Regions from separate parts of the Homo sapiens genome. Here all the other regions are linked to region 2. Evidence: promoter capture Hi-C in human tissues and cell types (Jung and others, 2019). All regions are on one chromosome and are shown on one strand. The core of a region is centred on a gene start or on the middle of the fragment in contact, and the rest is flanking DNA. Distances in the headings are between cores, read along the strand shown.

Region 1 (4,886 bases), core at 2,202-4,701, 210 kb before region 2:
GTTTCGTGGGGAAGAGACTAGCACAACCCCCAGTGCCCACTTGCAGCGCTTCCGGGGGTCCCAGGATGGCCCTCTAAGCCCACGGCCTCCACAGTGGCCACTCATACGATGATCCCCCTGAGTATGGGCAGAAATTGGTAGCTATTTTTATCTCATCCAGTTTCATTTCTATTTTTGGGATGTGTGTTTCATAATGTATGTAATCTATCGATACAGAAGCATGTGAGTAGCACGTATGCATGGATATGTATGTCTTTGGCAGATACATGCTTAAAAGTCGATCGCCAGGCAAGCGCATAACTAAAACAGGATAGTAGCTGCTGGAAATGAGGTTCTGGGGTGTAAAGGGAAGGGGGTGTCATCGGGGGTCCAGGAAAGGCTGTGCCATGGGGAATGCACCTTACGAGGCAGAGCAGGCAGACTGGGAGTGTAGGGTTGGGCACGAGCTGGGCAGACAGCAGGATCTGAGCACTTGTCTGTGCTTGGGGAGCAGCTGGCCACTCCAGTGCACCAGGATGCAAGCACCTGAGCCAGTAGGACAGAGTCTTGGGGGAGTGTGGGGGAGAAATTTGACCCCTGTTTCTTCACCATTTCCTAAGGTCTCAACCAAGGGTCAGCAAACTTTAAGAGCCTGATGGTAATGATTTAGGCTTTGTAGACCATATGGTGTCTGCCGCAACTACTCGACTCTGTAGCGTGAAAGCAGCCACAGACAACATGTAAACTGGTGAGCCTGGCTGTGTGCCAATCAAGCTTCACTTCCAGAAGTAGATAGTGGGCCATATTTGGCCCCTGGGCATAGTTTGCCCAACTCTGGTCTAGATTTAAGAGGACGGGCCCTAACGGGGCCCAGGACCAGCCTCAGTTTCTCACCAAAGTGCAAGCCGCTGACCTTGGATGGTGAATGGAGTGCTGCAATCACACTTACGCTTTGGGAGGATTTCGAGGGCCATGGTGTGGACTTTTCAGAGAGTTCGCTTAGCTGGAGCAGGTGATGAACAGCCCCTTACCTCACACAGTAAACATCTCAGCTCTGCCACACACCTTTACACCCCCTCCTATAGAGCCAGACGAACGTGGCTGTGTGGAGGATTCAGTACAGGGGCTGAGGGAGGAGGCAGGGCCTGGCCCATCAATGGAATCTTGAAACAGCTGAGCCCAAAGACATTCGGAGGTCCTCCAAACTGTCATCCCTCATGATGTTGTGCAAAGATGCACTCCAGGAAGAATGTCCCTTTTCTTCAAGTTTGGGAACTGCTAGAGTTCAGCAGAACCTTGCGTTTCTGTCCTGCGGGACTTCTCAGAGCCTTTAAGATGCTGATGCGTTTGTGACTCTCTAGGAGGGGATATGATGTTTCCTAACCCAGCTCAGACATGATTTCAAATGCCTTAAGAATCCGTCAAGGCCACTTCGGGGGAAGAGCTGATTTCTTTCAATGCTTCGTTTTATAAACAGGGACTCTAAGGCCCAGAGAGGTAAACATCTCGTTCGGGGTAACCCAGAGGCTGATGAGTGTGTTGGGGTGAGCACCAACGCCCCACCCACTGCCTCCCTCTGGCCTGGGAGAGCCATGGAGTTGACACAGGGTCACAGGTGTTGGGTCCTAGGTGGTGCTTCTGGGCACGTGAAGATGGTTTTGTCCCAGGAATACCCTGCGTCTTTTCACCTGAAGCTCACTCTGCGCTGGGGCTTCCCAACATGGCACTGTTGACATAGGGCAGGGGAATTGTTGATGTGAGGCTTGTGTCGGGCGTGGCTGGGCGTTTAGCAATATCCCTGGCCCCCACCCACCAGACGCCACCCCAACTTGTGAGCCCCACATGTGTCTCCAGACATTGCCAAATCTCCCAGGGTACGCTGGGGTGAAGGAGGGAGGGTAGTAAAATCACCCAGGTTGAAAACCACTGCTCTGTCCTACTAGGGGCGGGCCCTGCATTTGCTGGAATTTGCCAGTAAAGGGCAGAAAGACTTGCTGGAGCTCTGGCAGATGTGTAGGAGTTCGCGTGGGGGACAGGGTGGCGGGGACAGCCTCCCAAGGGGGAGAATTGAAGACACCTAAGGGCAGTTGTATGAAGCAGTGTGAGGGGCACTGCAGGTGGTTCAGTCTGCATGGGGCCCGAGCACAGCCGGTTGAGGGTTTGTGGGTGGGGGGAAATGCAGCTGGAGAGGGAGGAAAGGTGAGATCCCGGATGGGTGGATGGGTGGACAGGTGGACAGGCGGATGGGTGGACGTGTGTGAGTGTCTCAGTCCAGGAACTTCATGCCAAGGGCTGGAGGGCAGTGATGGAGAGGTCAGGGGAGGTGACACCCGGTGGTGGGTAGGTCAGGTGAGAGGATCCGAGGAAGGGAGTAGGGAAGAGAGCCTTTGGGAAGATGGGCATGGCCACCCATCAGAAGTTAGTGCTGGACAGCCTGGCCAACACAATGAAACCCCGTCTCTACAAAAAATGCAAAAATTAGGCACAGTGGCATGCGCCTGTAGTCCCAGCTACTCAGGAGGCTGAGGCAGGAGAATCCCTTGAACCAGGATGGGGAGGTTGCAGTGAGCCGAGATCACACCACTGCACTCCAGCCTGGGTGACAGAGTGAGACCTCATTTCAAAAACAACAACAAAAAAAAAAAAAAAAAAGAGAAAAGAAAGAAAGAAGTTAGTGCTGGAGTCCAGGAGACTTCCCAGATCTCGGCATCGGACACATGGCGGTGGGGCCGTGGGGATGGTAGGCTTGGGTGTGGAGGTAGAAGAGAGCGTTCTGTGGGTAACGTGACTCTGCAGACATTTCTTCTCAAAACTTGGATACTATGAGGCCTTTGGAATCTTTTCTGGGACTGATTCCTAGAGTCCAGGGAGAAAATTGCTGTGGATGACAGGACAGCGGGTTCAGAGTGGCCCAGGAGCAGGTGACTGCACATTTTTGCAAAGAGCAAAAGGGAAACCTGACCATCTGCATGGGTCTCTTACCTCCATTCTGAGGACACAAGGCATCTCTTCTCACTGTAGTTTGTCAAAGATCAGTGGCGTAAATAATTGCTAGGTGCTTGCTCATCGAGAAGAATCTGAATGACACCTGATATGTACACATAAAGATGTACCAGGCTGGGCACGGTGGCTCACGCCTGTAATCCCAGCACTTTGGGAGACTGAGGCGGGCGGATCACCTGAGGTCAGGAGTTTGAGACCAGCCTGGGCAACACGGTGAAACCCCGTCTCTACTAAAAATACAAAATACAAAATTAGTCGGGCGTGGTGGTGCATCTCTACTACTCAGGAGGCTGAGGCAGGAGAATCGCTTGAACCCGGGAGGCGGAGGTTGCAGTGAGCCAAGATTGTGTCACTGCGCTCCAGCCTGGGCGACAGGAGCTAAATTCTGTCTCAAAATAATAACAATAATAATAATAATAATAAAGATTTGCCAGTCTCCTTACTCCTACCACCCCAAGGGAACCACAGTAACATCCTGCCAGCTGGACCTTGTGATCTGGACACACGTATCCCTAACTTCACCCGACACGTTTGGGGGAGTATTTTGGGTTTGCCTGTCCTCTTCCTTTCCTCCCCTCCTTTTTCTCTCCCTTCCCAAACTGATGTTAGACTGGAGCATGTTCTTCTGAACTTTTTTTTTTTTAATCGTGGTAAAACATACAAAAACCTAAAATTTACCATCTTAACCATTTAAGACGTGCAGTTCAGTAGCGTTGAGTACATTACCGGATCGTACGATCATTTTGAGTTTGAGGAACCACCCTACTGTGTCCAGCGGCTGTGCCATTTTGCGTTTCCATCAGTGATACCCAAGGGTTCCGGTTTCTCCACATCCTTGCCAACACTTGTAATTTTCTGCGTCTTTTTTTTTTACATACTTAAAAAAAAATCCTAAATCTTTTATTGAAGGATGATATACCCAGAGTAGTTCCATACCTCCCTGCCTGCACTGACCTGTATGTCTGCATCTTTGGGGATGCCATTATTTTATTAGAATGGGCTCTCCTTTCATATTCTGTCGTGCTCTCCCCGCTGAATGCTTGTGGAAGTGTCTCCAGGCTCACTGATGTGGTTCTACCTCGTCTTTTTAATTGCTGTGTAACAACGGTTCATGGTGCAAACATATCAGAGTGGTCTGCCTAAGTGACCTTTGTCAATGACTGTGCACTCGATTTGGAGTGGCAGGAAGTGGCCGCACCTCTGTCATAAATACCCGTTATGGATCTCCTTCTGCTACTGGTGCTCTTGTTTTTTTTTTTTTTTTTTTTTTTTTTGAGGTGGAGTTTCACTCTTGTTGCCCAGGCTGGAGTACAGTGGTACGATCTTGGCTCACTGTAACCTCTGCCTCCTGGGTTCAAGCGATTCTCCTGCCTCTGCCTCCTGGGTAGCTGGGATTACAGGCATGCGCCACCATGCCCGACTAATTTTTTGTATTTTTAGTAGAAACGGGGTTTCATCATGTTGACCAGGCTGGTCTTGAACTCCTGACCTCAGTTGATCCACTGCCTTAGCCTCCCAAACTGCTGGGATTACAGGCGTGAGTCACCGTGCCTAGCCGGCACTCATTCTTATGGGCTCACGCACCAGGGGTGGAATTGTTGGATCAGTTGCCATTCATTTCCCCGAAGCTGCCGGATTCAGATCCCACCAGCCACGTTGGTACTTGCTCTCCGCTTCCTGTGTGTAGACAGGAGGCACCATCTCTGTATTGACTCTGTAGCAATCTGGAGGGTGCAACGTGCGATCTCATTACTGCTTTTCTTTTATGTCCTTTTGTCTCCATGGGAGGTTGAGCTTCTTTTCCTACAAGTTTACTTACTGTTTGCATTTACTTTTTCTTTGCATTGTCTGTTCCAGTCCTCTGGCTATTTGACTATTGTGTAATAAAAGGACCAAAAACAAAT
Region 2 (5,034 bases), core at 668-3,167:
AGGCTGAGGCAGGAGAATTGCTTGAACCCGGGAGGCAGAGGTTGCAGTGAGACGAGATCGTGCCACTGCACTCCAGCCTGGGTGACAGAGCAAGACTCCATCTCAAAATAAATAAATAAAAATTAAAAAAAACATATAATAAAAATAAAAAATTATTTATTTTTACTTTTTTTTTTCTTTTGTAGAGACAGGGTTTTGCCACGTTATCCAGGCTGGTCTTGAGCTACTAGACTCAAGTCATCCACTCTTCTCAGCCTCCCAAAGTGCTGGGATGACAGGAGTGGGCCACTGTGCTGGGTTTTCTTTACTTCTTTTTCTCAGATATCTCATGCCCTAGTATGGCTTCCCCTTCTCCTAGGCCTGGGAGCAATGGCTTTAATAGTAACCACTGTATTTGCATTTTGGAGGACTGCTCCTAAGAGCTGTTTTTATTTAAAGAGTCCCAGCAATCAAATACAGATTGGCTGGCTAGCTCCCACGTTTCCACACAATTCCCTCCTACTTAAGCTCTCTATGTTTACACACAGGACATCTAACTGCTTGTTCTGGTCAAGGTACAGCTTTCCGGAGCTCTGAGAGACGGAAGAGAAAGGGTTGGTACGTTCTGCAGGTGAATGGTGGTCTGCTGAGAGAGAGACAGACAGAGAGACATAGTCCAAGGTAACAGGAAAGCTTCTGGCACTGGTGCCTGTGCAGTCAGTGGTGTCACTGCCAGGACAGGAAATAGAGGTAGAGCAGGTTTGGGGGAGGGGAAGAATGATAAGTTCAATTTGGGACCTTTATTCATTAGCTCCTTGGGCATTACTAGGTGGCAGGTACTGTGTCAGGAACAACTGTGAACAAAAGAAATAAGGTCCCTGCTCTCCTGAAGCTTACATTCCTGTATGGGAAGGACAACTTAAATAAATCAACAAACTAACTGCAGAAGCCCTGGTTCTATAGTCGTGTGACAGACTGCGCTGCAAAGGCGGCCAGGAAAGTCTCCATCTGGGGGAGACCTGGAGATTAGAAGATGTCAGGTTGAGTATGACAATGACCCAGTGACATAGGCTGAGAGAAGCAGTTTGGATATCTAGGTCTGGGCTGGAGATGATCAGAAAAGAAGCAAAAAGCATACTGCAAAATATACGCAGCATATACTACTACTTATAGGGAGATCAAAAATCCACATAATGATAATGATTATTAATTATTTGAGACAGAGTCTCGCTTTGTCGTCCAGGCTGGAGTGCAGTGGCAAGATCTTGGCTCACTGCAGCCCCCGCCTCCCGGGCTCAAGCGATTATCCAGCCTCAGCCACCCAAGTAGCTGGGATGACAGGGGTGCGCCGCCTCGTCCGGCTAACTTTTGTATTTCTAGTAGAGACACGGTTTCGCCGTCTTGGACAGGTTGGTCTGTAACTCCTGGCTTCAGGCGATCCGCCCGCCCGCCTCGGCCTCCCAAAGTGTTGAGATTGCAGGCGTGAGCCACCGTGAGGGCCTCACTGATTATCTAAGGCTGTTTAGATTATAGATTTTTAGATTATGTTTTTGTTTCCCTAAACGGGGTGGTGAGTACAGAGGTGTGAGATGTAACACGTAATTTGTACACCTTTTGCACACGTAAATATCACAAAGTAAACTTTTAAAATAAGGCAAGGCCTAGGGCCTCGCGAGGCTTCTCTGAGGAGCGAGGACCAGTCAGTCACAGCCAGTTTCCACTGCCTCCACGCTCCGGCCTAGGCCAGCCCCTCTCCCCAGTCATTCGCTCGGGGCTGGCTCCGCCCCAGAACTGCGCAACCTCCCCGCCCACATCCGCGTCCTAACCAATGAGCGCTCGAAATTTGGGTCCACACCCCCGTCACGCCCCGCCCCAGACTCGCGCGCCCGTGACGTCACGGTCCGGCCCCCGCCACGTGACGGCCGCGCGCCGGGCTCTAGCTCCCCGCCGGGCTCGCGCCGCAGAGGCCGGTGAGGCGCCGGCGGCCACGCCGCGGAAGGCGCGGGCCGAGCAGAGCCGGGCGTTGGAGCCCGCGCGCGCATGGAGGCGTTGCCGGCAGCCCCCTGAGGGCAGCGGGGAGACAAGACCCGGCGACCTCGCGCATCCCTCGAGCCGCCACGCGCTCTCGCCACCGGGCGGCGACGGGCCGCGGAGCCGGCGCGGCCATGGCGACGGGCGGCCAGCAGAAGGAGAACACGCTGCTTCACCTCTTCGCCGGCGGGTGAGTTCCCGGGCCCAGCCGCGCGCGCCCCACCGCCTGCGGTCCCCTCGGCCTTCGCCCCGGGCGCGGCCCCAGCCTCCCGCGGCGGTTACCGGCCTTCCCCGGGCTACGGCGCCGGCGCTCGGGAGGAGGAAGTCCCGGCGTCGGGGACTGGTGGGCAGGGCCGAGGGAGGGGGTCGGGCCTTCCTCACCCCTACGTCCTGACCGCAGCCCCGAGGGCGGCTGTGCCCCGCCGCCCGTCCTCCCCGCGGCGTCCCCAGCTTTTCCCCATTCTGAAGAGTCAGTGGCCGGTGAGTGGTGCTCGGCGGCGGTCCAGCCTGGACGCTGTGGCGCGGCCCCCCCTCCCCCGCCCCCTTCTCCTGGGGCCTCTCCCGAAGCGCAGCGCCTCAGAGCCCGTGGTAGGATCGCTGATGCTCGGGTGTGCCCGAGGTTCCTCAGGGCAGCGCGGGAGGTCATCCGGACGGGCAAAAAGGTCTGCGGACGTTGGACGTCAGCAAGGCCTGGGTGGTGCTGGTGAACGGTGATGCTTGCGGCCACACGCGGGGTGGCTAAGCCAGGGACCCGAACTCATATGAGGTCTGGAAGGTGTGTTGAGACACTTCTCGCCGGCTGGTAGACGCTTCCAACGCCAGAGACCGCAGAATTGTAAGGTGTTCCTTGTTTTGAAAGCTGCATTAGGTCTATGGTCAGGCACCTTTTTTCCAGCGGAGACAATGCATTTTTAGGAGGTTGAGTTCTGCGGTTAGGAAGGGAGATGGTACCCCTCGCCACCTCCCCTTGTCACCTCCCGCCGAGAATAGAAGGTAAAATATTTTTGAGTATTAGTAATTTTCTTTTTTCCTTTATCACAGCCGGTGGCTTGGGGTCCTTTCGGAGTCTTACAGATATTTGGAGTATTAATTTGAGGACCTCATCGGCCTGGCACAGGAATTTTTGAGTGTAGGATATTTTGCATAAAATAGTTTATTCTGGGATGATCATCTTGGCTTGAGTAGTTGCAGCCTGGATTCCTACCTGGATATGTTCCTTACAACAAACAATGGTTGAGAAACTTATCTTGGAAGATGACTGATGAAAGCGTCCCTGAGCTTTTTTTGTACTTGTATTGTGGGCAGTCACCAGGTTACTTTAACCAAAAACTTCGGTGGGTCTTCATAGATTGGAAGAGTTTCTCATTCATCTCTTCCCTGTCATTCATTCCCTTGCAACCCTTCCCTCCATGTCTCCATTGAGACTTCCTTTTTTTTTTTGAGAGGGAGTCTTCCTCTGTCGCCCAGGCTGGAGTGCAGTGGTGCGATCTTTGGGCTCACTGCAACTTCCGCCTCCCGGATTCAGGCGATTCTCCTGCCTCAGCCTCCCGAGTAGCTGGGATTACAGGCCCCGCCACCAAGCCTGGCTAATTTTTTTTTTCTTTTTTTTTTTTTGAGACGGAGTTTCGCTCTGTAGCCCAGGCTGGAGTGCACTGGCGCCATCTCAGCTCACTGCAAGCTCCGCCTCCCGGGTTCACGCCATTCTCCTGTCTCAGCCTCCCGAGTAGCTGGGACTACAGGCACCCGCCACTACGCCCAGCTTTTTGTATTTTTAGTAGAGACGGGGTTTCACCGTGTTAGCCAGGATGGTCTCGATCTCCTGACCTCGTGATCCGCCCGCCTCGGCCTCCCAAAGTGCTGGGATTACAAGTGTGAGCCACTGCGCCCGGCCACGCCCAGCTAATTTTTTTGTGTTTTTGCTAAGAGGCGGAGTTTTGCCATGTTGGCCAGGCTGGCACTCCTGACCTCAAGTGATGGCCCACCTTGGCCTCCCAAATTGCTGGGATTACAGGCGTGAGCCACCATGCCCGGCAGAGACTTCCTTTCAGAGTAACACAAGGGGGAAGCATTCTTAAATTAAGCCACTCTATATAAATTTGTCTTTCTTGGGAATTTTAAACAACTTGGCCATTTTTTTTTTTGTCTCACACGTTTTTTAAGCCAAGAAGGATCATTTAAAAAAAAAAAAAAAAGGAATTTCTGCTCAGTGATTTTGACTTACTGTTTTTAGTGAGGTGGGTTTTTGCTTTTTGTTTTTTTTCAGACGGAGTCTTGCTCTGTCTCCCAGGCTGGAGTGCAGTGGCGCCATCTCGGCTCACTGCAAGCTCCGCCTCCTGGGTTCACGCCATTCTCCCGCCTCAGCCTCCCGAATAGCTGGGACTACAGGTGCCCGCCACCACGCCCGGCTAATTTTGTATATTTTTAGTAGAGACGGGGTTTAACCGTGTTAGCCAGGATGGTCTCGATCTCCTGACCCCCTCTGCCCACCTCGGCCTCCCAAAGTGCTGGGATTGCAGGCATGAGCCACTGCGCCCGGCCAGTGAGGTGGTCTTTTACAATTTTTCTTTGTATTCCAAACCAGGAGAGTTGCATGCTGGAGCAGCCTCTGTTGAGGCTCACTGTGAGATGGATGGCCCTGTCTTGTTGAATCTCCCTCTGTACCCTTCCCTGTGCCCTCTGGCTGCCAGATTCTCCTCCTAGGGCACCAGCCTTATACCTTGTGATGGAGTACATCTGCAGTGGCCAGCACAGCTCTCCTGCTTGATTAAGATGTAGGTAGTTCATTAGGGTGGCGCCTGAAGCCATTGTATTTAACAAGTTTCCGTTCCTGTCTTGGCAGCAATTGGAGACTCAAGAAAGAAAAGACAGCTTCCAAAAGTATGTTTTCAGAGTAACTAATTGGATTTTGATCCACTCTCACTAGCCTAAAATATTTTACTTTCTGTTAGGGAAGAACATGAAAGGAGCTGAGTGTAAAATGGCTGTATTGTATGGTTAAAATGAGGCCACCCAGAGGTCCCACCT
Region 3 (5,074 bases), core at 1,550-4,049, 230 kb before region 2:
TGTCAGCTCCCTTCTTGAGCCCATCAGCAGTTCCCATTGCTATTACGGTGAATTTGTAAATCCATGATGTGGTCTTCGGGGTGCGCGTGGCCCCTCCCAGGCTTACCCTGTGCCACTCCCTCCTCGCCATGGTCCCCCTCAACTGTGATGCCAGAGGTGCCCCATGGGGACCGACCCTGAGGCTGGGAGTCTGTAACTCATGGTGCTCCTCCTCCTGGGGGGCAGGAGCTGTTTCCAGGATTGGTTGCTGACAGTATTGCAATTTGGTGCCCCTTCCAAATCCTGTTAACCCGTCTGGGACCAGAACTTCAGCTTTAGCAAGTTACTGTCTTAATTCCATTCCTTCCAGTGTTTTCCAAGACATGTCAGGCCCAAAGGGGGTGGACTGCCTCTCATTTGACAGAGAGGATGACAGAAGTGTGCTTAGGAGCTTCTTGCCAGTGCTGTTGGGGCAGTGCTGCAGTTGCCCTGACTGGTGGCACCTAGCAAGGGGGCCATTTGCCCTGGGCCCATCCTTGGTGGGGTCATGGATACCCAGGTCCTGCATACCCAGCAGTAGGTCCTGCATACCCAGGGCCCCCGGAGCCACGGTGCCCTGACTGTGGGTCGGGGGACAGTTTCTAGAAAGCAGATGGGTGGGGTTGCCTCAGGCACGAGAGAAAACCTAAGCTGTCATCAACTGGGGGACCACTGGCCCCTTCCTTGTTGGAGCTCCCGACAACTTGTTCCTGCCTTTTCCCTCCCATGCTGGGGCCGGCATTTAGTTTAGGGTGTCTCAGATCCCATCTGCTGTGAGTGTGATTCTGCCTGAAATAGTCTTCACATGTATTGATTGAATGTGTGCCATGAGCCAGGCGCTATGCTTGCCACTGTAGATGGGTTTTTAACCCCTTAAACAGTCCTGTGAGTTAGATGTTACCTCCCGGTTTACAGATGAGAAAGGAGGACTTTTTTTTTAGAGAGGTTTTCTGCGTTGCAGGAAGTGGCATGACTCCCTGGATGCTGGAAGGTGGGCCTGACCCCACAGCCTGTGTTTTTTTCTACTGCGACAGTGGAACGTGCCAGTCCTGTTGATTGGGCACCTGCTATTGCCAAGCACAGCTTGGGAGGCGTGTGATGCACCTCCAGGCCCCTGAGAGCCTGTGGCCCAGCAGGTGTATGCAGGAAACATGAGCTCCCTGCCAGGGGCTGGGCGGGCACCAGGCCTGCGTGGGTACAGAGGGCCTCCTGAGACTGTCAGGAGGGTTTGTTCTAGGCTGGGGGGTTTCATGGTAGGGGACCAGGAGATTGACTGCCATGAGGAGGACCGGGAGAAGGCTGCAGAGCTGTGTAGCAGGGAGGGCATCAAATGCCAGGCCCAGGGGTCGTCGGTGGGCATGGGGTGTCCTTGCACTTCCATGCCATTCACCTCCAAAGTTGTTCCTGAGATGTGCAGATAAGCTAGATCCCCCCTCAATTCCTGTGTGCTCCCCTGCGGAGAGAGAGAGAGAGAGAGTGTGAGAGAGAGAGAGAGAGAGTGTGTGTGTGTGTGTGTGTGTGTGTGTGTGTGAGTGACAGATTCTCTCTCTGTCACCCAGGCTGGAGTGCAGTGGTGCGGTCACAGCTCACTGCAGCCTCGAACTCCTGGGCTCAAGCGATCTTCCCACCTCAGCATCCTGAGTAGCGGGAATTATAGGTATGTGTCACCATACCTGGCTAATTTTTAAAAGTTTTTGTAGAGATGGGGTCTCGCCATGTTGCCTAGGCTCTCCCTTGCATTTAAAACGTGGTAATCAGGCCAGGCACAGTGGCTCACGCCTGTAATCTCAGCACTTTGGGAGGCCGAGACGGGTGGATCACCCGAGGTCAGGAGTTTGAGACCAGCCTGACCAACACAGTGAAACCCCGTCTCTACTAAAAATATAAAAATTAGTCGGGGATGGTGGTGCATGCCCATAATCCCACTACTTGGGAGGCTGAGGCAGGAGAATCGCTTGAACCCAGGAGGCAGAGTTTGCAGTGAGCCAAGACTGCACCATTGCACTCCAGCCTGGGCAATAGTGTGTGACTTTGTCTCAAATAAATACAGTAGAGTAGAGTAGAATAAAATAGTGGTAACTGGGGGCCCTGACCAGTCTCCCTTGGGAGACCCAATTCAACTTCCTGGTCATTTTGTTTGGCTGTGCCTGGAGCTCTTATCTGTCTTCTTGGGGGTTTGGCTGTGGGTCTGCCCGAGGTCCTGGGCTTCTGGCTGGGGTAGTGTTGCCTGTTGCCCTAAAGCTCTCCTCAGGTGGGGGATGGTGAGGGGCCTGTGATGATGCCTCTGCACCTGCCGTGGGAAGGCCACAGAGTCTAGGGGCCATCTGTGATGATGCCTCTGCACCTGCCGTGGGAAGGCCACAGAGTCTAGGGGCCATCTGTGATGATGCTCCTGCACCTGCCGTGGGAAGGCCACAGAGTCTAGGGCCCGTGCTGGTGGGACTTGCCTCTTGGGTTGATCCCAGGAAGCTTCAAGCAAACTCAAGATTCACAGGATTCAGACAACGGTAATTTCTGTGAGGGGAAAGGCATCTCATGTGAGGTTCTTGGGGCGCCTTCCTGGATTTCTAAGGGATGAGCTCCTGGATAGATCAAGAAGACCTAAAGGGCCGGGCACAGTAGCTCATGCCTGTAATCCCAGCACTTTGGGAGGCCGAGGCAGGCAGATCACTTGAGGCCTGGAGTTCCTGACCAGCCTGGGCAACATGGTGAAACCCCGTCTCTACTAAAAATACAGAAAAATTAGCTGGATGTGATGGTGCATGCCTGTGATCCCAGCTACTCTGGAGGCTGAGGCAGGAGGATCACTTGAGTTTGGGAGGTCGAGGCTGCAGTGAGTTGTGATTGCACCACTGCACTACAGCCTGGGCAATGGGAGTTAGACCTTGTCTTAAAAAAAAAAAAAGAGAGACCTGGGCAGCAGGACCTTGTCACCTCATTCCTCTGCAGATGGGGGTTGGGGGAGATTCTCAAGTGTTTCTCCTGTCTGAGGGTCTTCTCATTTGGAGATTTGAAGAAAGTGCTAATGAGAAAGGTTGCCTTGCATTTATGAAGCTTGGGGAAGTCATCCTAAGGGGGCCACAGCGTGCTTAATTTATTCCAATTCCGTAATATATAAATTATACGTACATGTCAGGGTTCTTCTAAAAACACTTCGCCATCTTTGGAAAAATGGAATGTTCAAAAAGATAAATATTTTCCCCCCTTCTTCTAATTGTATCCTATCGGGCCAATTTGGAGCTGGTCAGTGTGAACAGATCCTTTCTTCTCCCGCCTCTAGCCTCCCAGGCTCCCTGAAAGCCAAGTCCTTACCCCCACGCCACTCTCAGGGGTGTCTAGACAGCGCAGGATAAAGGGTTTTTTTTTTTTTTTTTTAATGCCTTCATCATGCAGCCAGTATTCCCTGAATGCCCGCTCTGTCCTGGCTGTCACAGTGCCTATGCTGAGAGAGCTATGCCCAGACAGGGCCGACCCAGGAGGCTGCGTCTGAGCCGAGTCCTGACCCATGACTGGGGTTTCTTTCTTCCCCCTGATGGGTCTCGGCGTGGCTGAGGTTTTGCTTTGCTGTCTGCATTTATGGAGATTTTTATAATGGAAAATTTCAAACACAGGGCAGAGTAGAGAGACTGGTGTCCTGAACCCCATACCCACACCACCCAGCACCAACAAATATTCGCTGGTCTCTTCACCATGCATGGGACATCTTCTTTTCTGGAAAGACCGATCGGGCTTAGAAATAGCATCAAAGTCCTGGAAAAGGATCAGACTTGAACCAACGCTTGAGCCAGAGCAGTCTCACTCTTATCTCTAGGCTTTTTTTTATGGGGCAGGGGAGCATTCTGTAGAAGATTTAACTCCCGCTGCTTCTGGCAAAGAGCAGGAATAGATAAGGGTCAGCACCCAGGATGTTTCTGCCGGGGGTTGCCGAGTGGTAGACGTGAAACGTGGCTTTATCTACCACGTTTTGTGTGTTTGGGATGGGACCTCTATTTTCTCCCTGAAAAGGTGGGTTTGGTGCATCCCTGGGGGGTATGAATTTTCTTGGTGGCACTGAGCCCTGTTTCATCCTCTGCCAGATGAAATAGCTATGCTCAGACAAAGCAGGGAAATGGGACTGGTTTTCTCTCCTTAAGCCAGTGGCTAAGTATTGAGATACAGGAGACCTCATGCAGATGACGTTTTTGTCTTGGTGTAACCGTTGGCCCTGCCTGTCTCTGTCACCCAGGCTGGAGTGCAGTGGCGTGATCATAGCTCACTGCACCTCAAACTCCTCAAGTGATCCTCCCTCCTCAGCCTCCTGAGTAGCTGGGACCACAGACACATGCCACCACGCTTGGCTAATTTTTATTTTATTTTAATTTTTTAATTTTTTAATTTTTTTCGAGGCAGAATCTCGCTCTGTCACCCAGGCTGCAGTGCTATGTTGCTCAGGTTGGTCTCGAACCCGTCCTGGGCTCAAGCAGTCTTCCCAACTTGGCCTCCCAAAGCTCTGGGATTACAGGCACGAGCCATTGTGTCCGGTCTGTCTGGTTTTTTATGAGACAAAGCAGGGAGTCCCTGACCTTCCTGAATATTGTAGGCAGTGAGCGCTAACACAGGGTTCTTTCGTAACAGCCCTGTGGAGGTATTATGCACACGCCACGCAGTTCGCCTATTGTAAATGTACACATTGATGATTATTAGTGCACACATGTGGTCAGGCAGCCGTGGACACCGTCCTAGAATTCATTTTTTCTCCCTACCTCAGCATGCTGTGCGGTGGGGACTGGGGGAGGGCCGCATTCTCCCAAGTTTCCTGAGTGCTGATGGTAACACAGTCAGGTGCCAGCACGGAGTTTTGTTGGACGAGCAGCTCATGAGCTGAATTTTGCAATGATTGGATGATTGTGCATGGACTCATCTCATCAAATTGGCGTGGTTTTGGTTTTCTTTGGGTTTTATTATTATTATTATTTGATTTTTTCAACCTGGTCAGTCTTATTGCAAGTGGCGCAGTTTTGGAAGGCGCCCAGGGAAGGCTACTTGGTTGGCATTTGGAACTGTGTGGAAGGAGTGG

Evidence for each region. The method cuts DNA at HindIII sites, captures the fragments that hold promoters and counts their contacts. A contact is called where the count stands out against the background at its distance.
Region 1: a fragment that was not itself captured here is called in contact with the fragment with the promoter of SLC25A33 in region 2 in 2 of the 25 tissues and cell types used here (bladder and thymus).
Region 3: a contact is called between a fragment that was not itself captured here and the fragment with the promoter of SLC25A33 in region 2, in 2 of the 25 tissues and cell types used here (lymphoblastoid cells and mesenchymal stem cells).

What each region holds. Positions count from the first base shown.
Region 1 is chr1:9,327,092-9,331,977 of GRCh38, forward strand. All of the region lies in intron 1 of SPSB1 (splA/ryanodine receptor domain and SOCS box containing 1), which reads left to right. Among named protein-coding and RNA genes, the nearest start is that of SPSB1, 37 kb to the left of the region's middle. The HindIII fragment of the contact is 8,123 bases long and covers 1-4,886 here.
Region 2 is chr1:9,537,548-9,542,581 of GRCh38, forward strand. SLC25A33 (solute carrier family 25 member 33) reads left to right here and starts at 1,918. Exons shown (of 7, transcript NM_032315.3): 1 at 1,918-2,200. The coding sequence starts at 2,145. RefSeq lists silencers at 1,674-2,193, 2,214-2,573 and enhancers at 1,683-1,977, 2,644-2,773, 3,799-4,298. The HindIII fragment of the contact is 17,899 bases long and covers 1-5,034 here.
Region 3 is chr1:9,307,786-9,312,859 of GRCh38, forward strand. The region is part of intron 1 of SPSB1 (splA/ryanodine receptor domain and SOCS box containing 1); the gene reads left to right. Among named protein-coding and RNA genes, the nearest start is that of SPSB1, 17 kb to the left of the region's middle. The HindIII fragment of the contact is 5,086 bases long and covers 257-5,074 here.